2 separate regions of the Homo sapiens genome follow, and region 1 is linked to region 2. Evidence: promoter capture Hi-C in human tissues and cell types (Jung and others, 2019). All regions are on one chromosome and are shown on one strand. The core of a region is centred on a gene start or on the middle of the fragment in contact, and the rest is flanking DNA. Distances in the headings are between cores, read along the strand shown.

The links. The method cuts DNA at HindIII sites, captures the fragments that hold promoters and counts their contacts. A contact is called where the count stands out against the background at its distance.
Region 1: a fragment that was not itself captured here is called in contact with the fragment with the promoter of SLC17A6 in region 2 in 1 of the 25 tissues and cell types used here (adrenal gland).

The regions. Positions count from the first base shown.
Region 1 is chr11:22,371,657-22,376,243 of GRCh38, forward strand. SLC17A6 (solute carrier family 17 member 6) reads left to right here. Exons shown (of 12, transcript NM_020346.3): 9 at 3,099-3,231; 10 at 4,326-4,436. Among named protein-coding and RNA genes, the nearest start is that of SLC17A6, 36 kb to the left of the region's middle. The HindIII fragment of the contact is 8,185 bases long and covers 1-4,587 here.
Region 2 is chr11:22,335,896-22,340,697 of GRCh38, forward strand. SLC17A6 (solute carrier family 17 member 6) reads left to right here and starts at 2,486. Exons shown (of 12, transcript NM_020346.3): 1 at 2,486-2,724. The coding sequence starts at 2,639. SLC17A6-DT (SLC17A6 divergent transcript) reads right to left here and starts at 2,327. Exons shown (of 4, transcript NR_186351.1): 1 at 2,100-2,327. The HindIII fragment of the contact is 11,384 bases long and covers 1-4,802 here.

The DNA of each region.
Region 1 (4,587 bases), core at 1,865-4,364, 36 kb after region 2:
TGGTCCTGTAGCTCCAATTAATTGAGAATGCTTGAGTAAAAGCAATGGTATTTTGCAAAAAGTAATTATAAATCAACCAGCAGATGGGTTGATTTATTTCATTCATTAGTTATATTTTTAAATAAAATTGTGGATAAATTCACACACACAGATTGGTCTTCAGATACTAATTAGATTAGTTTAAAAAATTCTGACTTAGCTGAAAAAATTGTATAGGAGATGATGGAGAACATAGGGAATTTGCTTTGGGTCTAGACTGACATGGCTTCAAATCTAAGTTCTACAACAAAGTATTGGTATATAATCTTGGGCAGCGTTTTGAATAATTATCGGCTTCAATTTTCTTATCTCTAAATAATGGTATTAACTTAATACCATTAAATGATAATGATATTATTTAAGAAGTGCAGCCAAATTTAGGTGAAGTAAGTAAAATATTTACATGGAGGGTCATTCTCTGCAACTTTAGTTAAATTGGGTATCCTACAGAAAAAAATATGAGTGCAATGGCTTAACCTTCATTCTAAGTATACTGACTTAGTTCAGACAGCACTGTATATATAAATAAAATTGTAACATAGATTTTATATCAGTTAGCTATATGTTAATTGTATTAGTTAACTGAGATATACATATATATATCATTATATATTGGCATAGGCTAATACAATATATATCAGGTAAATACTTTTTTCATTTTTTAAAACAAGTATATATATATATACACACATACACATATATATATATAATTTAATATATTATATCAGCCTATGCTTATATGTAACATATTCAGGCCCTTGAAAATGGCATATCAGCGGGTCAGTGCTAGGATTAACCAGCACTTTCAAAGGTCAGATTATAGGGGCAAGCCAAATGAGAATAGACATCCATTCCTTTTGAGCTTCCTATTTAGGGGAGGAGAAGAACAGTGTTGGCTGGTTGTGCTTTGCTGCTATTTCTGAACAAGACGTGGATCAGATAGGAAGACATACGATCTAGACTATGACCCAGAAAAGCTAAAAGAAGGATGAGGCAAAAATCTAATTACCTGGAGTTTCTATGAAGAATAAATCAATTATAAGCTCAAAAACATTTATCCTAGCCTTGCAAAACCTTAAAATAATAAGCACACTTGTATGTGATTGACATGAATGATCTTTAGGAAGGTTTTGATCATTTTGATCATGTGTCAAGTGATTACTCATGATAAGTCCCCAAAAGCCAAGAAGACCACTGAATAGCTCAAAAACTTGAAACCTCTTTGGCTCTTTTGAGGTCAAATACAGAGTATATCCACATATTAAGAAAATAGGAGAGTCAATACCCTTAAATGTTAAATCAATATGCTAAAATAGTCTAAAACTTATCTCATTAACCCTGTAGATTTTTAGCACCTTGCATTTTCCATAGTGCTTTGCACACCCTTTGCTGAAAGTGTGAAAAAATAACCATAGCTTTGTTCCTTTCTTATCCAAAGTAGTCAAAATGATTGTTCAAATAGATAGTAAATAACAGAGGATTTTCAATTAAAAAACTTTTCAGATGTATTAAATACTGGGTCAGAATGAAAGTCGTTTATGTGGACTTAGGCAATGTGGTTACTCCCAAACTTTTAGCCTGCCTTTATAAATGCCAAAAATATGCCATGTAATTCTATACAAATCCTAACATAGTGTCTTTCAGAATGTTTTTGTTGTTGTTCAAAGGTTTCTTTCTACACATTGACTGCTTGAAATATATTTACTCCATATTAAGAATAAAAAGCCTTGTACTTTTCTCAGGATGCTAGTCTCAAAAGCAATAATGATTTTTTTTTTTAATGTCAGTTTACCTGACATCTTTATTTAGGTACCTGTTGAGCCCCTGCTACATACCAAGTTTTGTACTAGACTAAGCACATTAATATATATTGTCTGATTTTATTTGATTTTTCCTTCTCATGGCAGTGGTGCTCAGCATAAAGGCTAAGAGCCCAGTCTTTCGACTCACGTAGAACTGATTCAAAACTTGGCTCTCACAATCACTTAAGTCTTCTGACTCTAAATTTTTTTTATTTAATAAGAACACTATTAAAATCATCCATCTGGGATGGAAGAGATCATTCTATAGCCTGAACAGTTAACCTACTGTGGAGTCATTTACTGTCTCAATTAATTATTACAACTCAAATCCATGATTGTGATACCTTACTATACACCAGTGTAAAATAAAATGGAATCTTTGTCTCAAACCTTCGATAATCTAATTGGAAAGACATACTTAAACACAAATTATGAATGCCATCTGCCAACAATTGTTCTTCAAAGTATACTTAGTAAAAAACTTCCTTATGTGTTTACATTCAAAGTTTATTAAGTCCACGTATGCGGTAATACATAATTCAAATGCATTTTATGTATACTTACTGTCCCCATAATGCTTACAACACAGTGCTTTGTGTGTAAGTAATGGTAAAAATATGTGTTTAACTGATCTTGGTGCGTAAAGTTTTAAATTAGGCTATTTAGCATGAAATTAATTCAGAAACTATATGCCACCATACAAAAATGTGATCAAGTATTGATATTTGACACAGAAAATACTTAAAATTGAAGAAATTATCTGCATTACCTGGGATCTTACTCTATAGAAATTATGTCTGTGCTATAAAACTCATGATATATATATTTAAAGTGCAAATATGCATTTTTCCCATATGAATTAAACATGAATTTAAAATACAGCTTCTTCAGGATGTGACAAATGTATTTTTCCTCTCTCTCTCTCTCACCACTTTTCCTCTCTTTCACTAAGGGTGTATTCGTGCAAACACATTTAACAATATCAGAAGAGTTGATTCATACTCAAAATTTACTGATGCATTACGTGGCAAAAAAAAAAAAATTACCTTCTAAAGGAATCCAAGTAAATTTAGCTTTTCTAATTTATTCTGTGGAAGGCATTACTTTTTCTAGGAATGAGTAAGTGATCATTTGGAAAGATTATTTTTCCTTCCTTTGTCCATAAAGATGTGATGACAGATTCAGAAACAAAGGCCATTAAATTGCCCATATTATTTATGGTTATGTCTATTTCTCTCCCTTCTTGTTTTTCATCAGGTTGGTATGCTATCTGCTGTGCCACACTTAGTAATGACAATTATTGTGCCTATTGGGGGACAAATTGCAGATTTTCTAAGAAGCAAGCAGATTCTTTCAACTACGACAGTGAGAAAGATCATGAATTGTGGTGGTAAGTACATAAGTGGCACTAAGGACATGTTTTTAGTTCAATCAGTTTAACCTACATGAGAGAATAACTTTTTCTACACATATCAAATTACTTAGATGCAGTTACATTTGTGCCTTCATTATTCACTTAAAATAACTTCCTCATATTACATCAAATTTTTCATAACTCCTAGTTTTAAGTAACTGCTTAATAATGCCATTTGTGGCCAGGCACGGTGGCTCATGCCTGTAATCCCAGCACTTTGGGAGGCCAAGGTGGGTGGATCACGAGGTCAGGAGTTCAAGACCAGCCTGGCCAATATAGTGAAACCCCATCTCGACTAAAAACACAAAAAATTAGCTGGGCATGGTGGTGAGTGCCTGTAAGTCCAGCTACTTGGAAGACTGAGGCAGGAGAATTGCTTGAACCTTGGAGGCAGAGGTTGCAGTGAGCCGAGATCACACCATTGCACTCCAGCCTGGGTGACAAGAGTGAAACTCCGTCTCAAAAAATAAAAATAAAAAAAATAAATAATAATGCCATTTGTATTTATTGTAACTAACTCACCTCTTCCAATCATTGAAACTTTAGGTTGTTTTGGATGTTTTTCTTTGTTTGTTTTTGTGTTTTTGAGATGGAGTTTCACTCTTGTTGCCCAGGCTGGAGTGCGATGGCATGATCTCGGCTCACCACAACCCCCGCCTCCCGGGTTCAAGCGATTCTCTTGCCTCAGCCTCCCAAGTAGCTGGGTTTACAGGCATGTGCCACCACACCCAGCTAATTTTGTATTTTTAGTAGAGTCTGGGTTTCTCCATGTTGGTCAGACTGGCCTCGAACTCCTGACCTAGGGTGATCTGCCCGCCTCGGCCTCTCAAAGTTCTGGGATTACAGACATGAGCCACCGCATCTGGCCTGGATGTTTTTATTAAACACAAGGAAAGCTTCATGAATCTCTAGGGTAAATTATTATGATTATTATGATTATTATTAGTTTTGAAGATAGACTCTCTGAAGTGGAATTTCTAGGTCAATAAGTTGGAACATTTTTAGCAGTTTTGGCTCATTGGTAAAATTTCAAAAATTTCTGAAGAATTTCTATGTGTTTGCTTCTGAAGGTTTTGGCATGGAAGCCACACTGCTCCTGGTCGTTGGCTATTCTCATACTAGAGGGGTAGCAATCTCATTCTTGGTACTTGCAGTGGGATTCAGTGGATTTGCTATATCTGGTAAGATATAATTTTTTTTCTTTGTACTTGGGACATTCTGATTTTGACTGCTGATAAAAGACACATACATATACCTTTTTATAGATATCTTCATATATATATTCTATATGTTGAATAATAGTCAAATATTTCCACTAGAAAATGAAAAAAA
Region 2 (4,802 bases), core at 1,236-3,735:
TCAATATTACCAGTTATTCTGATTCAGTTGCTCACCCTATTATCAAGAGAGTGGAAGAGAGAGGAGGATGACATTCATTTCAATAAAGGTGAATATAACTGTTTAAAAACAATGCTTTTGTGTTGGATTTATATTGCTTAGTGTCCCCTCATATTTGTGTATTGGAGACTTAGCTATCATGTTTACTGATGGTTTAGATAGATCTCTAGTCATTTGTGGTGCAACTTAAGCTGGAGTGCTTAGGAAAATCATTTACATATCATCACCCCAGCTTCACAAATATTTGTTGTAAATTCTATTTTTTTGTATAACTTCCCAGAATTCCAAAATCATTAATATCTCTAAATAAATATAATTTAATGAACTTAGTTATTAAAGATTTGAAAAATACAGATATTTTGAAAACACCTAGATAAGTCAAGTCCTGAATAGCTTGAATCTTTTAATCTTTTTCTTTTCTTTTTTTTTTTGCAAGGAAATAGTTTAATGAGGGTTTTTTTTTTGTCTCCTTATACTTGATCTTGAGAAATAGATAGTATTCTGAGGCATCCCATGGTTTTAGAGAAAAATTAAATTCACTGTTTTATTGAAGATACATATTTTAACACAAATTTATCAAAAAAGATAAAAATGTCTTCATTATCCTTTTCTTTATTATATTTCACAATGGAAATAATTTGACAACTATCAAACTTAATAATGGCAGATGGTTTTAGCTACTTTGACATTTTTTTCCAGCTATCCATTCAGTGAATACATAGCCATTATATCATTTGAACTATTCAGGTAATATTCTTATTTGATTCTCAATTTAGATCCATATTTTTGAGATTTTGTCTCAGGATCCTAAGTAAAATTGACTCCCTCTGTTGGCTTATGTGACATCCAAGGTTTTGACCTTGAAAATGTGGTTCAAGGCCAGTCTGTTCTGTAAGCATTGGCCTGAATTGTACTTAAGAAGTTTGTGATTCATGTGAAAGAGATTAATAATTTACATTAATCTAGCAGTTTTCTTGCTTGCTTAATGAGATAAATTCATTGATGCTGTACCTGTATATATAAAGCCAAAACTCTTACATGAATGTCTTTCAAAATTTATGCTTTAGGAGAAGGACATACAAAGAAAAATAAAATAAGATTTGAATGGAATATATGTAAATTAAAATAAATCTTTTTAAAAATAAATCTTTAAATTATCAATTACAATTTGTTGGCAAGCACAAGGTATAGCCACATATTTCATCAGTATATTGGTATTTCAGTAGTGTATTGTAAATTAGTTAAATAAAGATGCTTAAAATTCCAAGGAATTTATATTAAATTAACTGTATTTTATTTAATCAACTTCACTGAGTTTATAGCTATTCTTTTTTCTTCTCTCCATACCTCCCACCTCTTTTTCTTTATCTCTCCTTTCCTCTATTCTTCATTCTCTCCCTTTCTTTCTTTCATCTTTTTCCTGTCAGGAGTTAAAACAAACACATGAACAATGTAATTATGTATTTTGTGTGCACATATTTTATATTCAAGGGAGCCTAGGTGTCTTGGAACACCACAAGCATAAGTTAAATATGTTGAAATCTTTCTTCCCTGCAATACTGGCATCAGCGTGCTGGACAAAACGTAGCAAACTAGAAGTAACTTGTGAATTTTTAATAAAGTTGTCTTCCCTAGCAGAGCTAAATGCACCATTCTCCCTGCAAACTCTGGAGATGATGACATCTTCCCAATGGTTTCCATAGCATCCGTTCCTGAAGAGCCCCCGTATGGTCCTTGGTCAGGGCGATCCGCCCAGCTCCCCTAGAAAGTTGGCAACCTAGCTAGCCAAAAGAAGAGTCCCCTATTCCTGAAACTTACTCTGTCCGTGGTGCTGAAACATTGTACCGAGACCCGCCCAGACGGGCGCTGTCAGCCGCTGAAAAAAAAAATCTTCCCCGAGGCTGCCCAAATCAGAACTGTGTATCTTTTATTTACTCACGTCCTCAAAGAGCAGCAAGCCTTCTCCATCTTAATTTGACTCTACCGCAGAGCAGACTTACGCTGGCGTGATGGGAGGAGATCATGGGCAGAGAGGAAAAACTAATAGCAGCATTGCTCACCTGAGACCTGAGATGCTCCCATGAGTTTTGAATATGCTCTGCTCCTTACAGCAAAGACACCATTTTTAAAAGTACCATTCTTTTGACTTTGCTGTTCCCAAGGCTTCTGTGATATTCCGGCCCCTCCGTTTAAAAGCCATCAGATTTGAGAGCAATAAGTCTTCAAAACCGGGAATTTACATTGTTTTTCAGCTGACCGACTTCCAGGAAAAGGACTCAACCGCATCTACCCAAATACCGTGGCACTGCTTGCGCTCTTTGCCACCGGATCCTCCCCTTCCAATGAGACTTTCTGATTGTGTCTACCAACTCTCCTATTAGGAAACCCGTGGGTTGCATGCAGCTATTCTGTTGTATTCTCATTCTCACTCTCCCTCCCTTCTCTCACTCTCACTCTTGCTGGAGGCGAGCCACTACCATTCTGCTGAGAAGGAAAAGCCCGCAACTACTTTAAGAGATTAAGACAATATGCGCAATCCTCGCCTTTCCTAGCAATCACTATTTAAATCTGGCAAGAACTGACAACAGTCTTTGCAAGAATGGAATCCGTAAAACAAAGGATTTTGGCCCCAGGAAAAGAGGGGCTAAAGAATTTTGCTGGAAAATCACTCGGCCAGATCTACAGGTAAGACAAAGCGAACACTTGCTTACCTGGGGCTCAGCATGAAAAAATCTGCAGGGCCGTTTCCGTAAACCCTGGTGGCTCAGAAAGATTGTAATATGATCGGAAAGTCTTTTTGTTGCCCATTGCTTGGAGCGGGGGTGCTCTGGAAACCTGCTTATTAATGCAGGAATGTTGCACTAAATGAACCTGTCTGGTGTGTGTGTGTGTGTGTGTGTGTGTGTGTGTGTGTGTGTTTGATTTTTGCTTTGGTGCCTGCAGAGTTTTTGTCCTTTACTACACAGGATTTATCTTCTTTACAGTTAAGAAATGGCCAGCCCCTGCTCAAACAGCGTTTCTTTTGGTGCTTATAGATACCCCGAATTAAATTCCTTTGATGCAGACAAATGAATATAAAACACAACCATCTAAAAAAATAACCAAGAAATTCCAAAGAGTAATGGTTTATATATATATATATGTTATATATATATGTTATATATATATGTTATATATATATGTTATATATATATGTTATATATATATGTTATATATAGTTATATATATATGTTATATATATATGTTTTATATATATATATATATATATATGTTAGAGAGAGAGAGAAAGAGAGAGGTCTCAGCTTCAAAAGCATAGTAGAGAATCCCCTAGTGAAATATGTCTTCTGTATTGAATGAAGAAGAATCAAAATATATCAATAATTGATAGTTGAAGCAATTCCTTTCTCTGAGCCTGAAACAATGTATATGCATTTTTAATTATTTTCATCTCCTAGAGTCTATTTCTTGCATAGGAAATGTCAATGCCTGGAAGAACAGCCATAAATATAACAAGCAACATTACTTTGAAAGTCCTAGAAATGATTTAATTATTTAATCCTCCTGTAGTCACTATACTAATTATGCTGTAATTTGCAAAACTTTAAATCATTTCAAGTATGTTATATGGATACAGCTTTTCTTAATAATTAGAGCAAAATCAAGACGACAGGGCAGACATAAAAGGAAAAAGAATTACAAAGGAGCACTAATTTTAATATTTGGGAAATTGAAGTCTCTGTAAATGCATGAGAAATGTAAAGAAAATGATCAAACCACTCCCAGATTTTCCAAATCTCTTCAGGTTTGGCGGGCTTCATGTAGGCACGATTATGCACCTATGCGGCAGTAGATACCGCAAGGGCCCTGCAGTCCCACAGCTACCATGGAAAGGGATGTTCTTTCCCAGTACAACTGCCATCCGGTGCAGAGCTCAACTTCGTATATTTGAGCACACGAAGCAAATGCAGGAAATGAAAAAAAAAAACCGCATTGGCTGAATTTTTTTCTCCCAGTAAAAATAAATTGCAATGTTTTCTAACATTGTGATCGGACTTTAAGAATAAACATTAACCTAGCCACAAATACCTTTATGACTTATTCTCCAGGTGCTACGTTATAGAATTCGGAAGCCTGACATTTTTCTTCGGGTGGCCTCAAACTTCTTGACAGCAGTATTCCAAGCTATGCATATTTGAAATTAGTTTAAAAATTTCACTTGCTTTACCCGTGTGTGTGAAAACAATTGGGTGTTCACATAGCACTTAAAACAGCACAGGTGAAAAGCAATTACACGGTAGATTGGAAAAAATATCTGCAAATTGTAAACGGAAAGGCTCTTTGTTTAAATATCGAAAGTATCAATCGCAAGGGGCTACGTACAGAGATGTTACCTTATACATTCCTTTTGTTTGTTTGTTGTTAATAGAAATTTCATGAATATGTTGTAGACTAGAACACTACCACCTTTTAGTAAAACCATTCCTTTTCTCTGCATTCCCCTTTTCATTTGTCCCTTCTCCCAAGGACCAAAGCCAAAAATGAATTGATGGTTGAAATCTTATGAAACACTATGCAAAAACAAATATTTAAGTGAGATCTTCCCCTTTGATGTGGAATATCTTACAAAAGTTGATTTGGGGGAGCCTTTGTATATCTGGGAGTCGCATTTTGCGTCTTGGGAAATGGACCCTTGACATTTTTCGGTGTTTGTAAGAGAGATAGTAATGACGCAAGATTGTGAATAATTAATTATTCATGTTCTG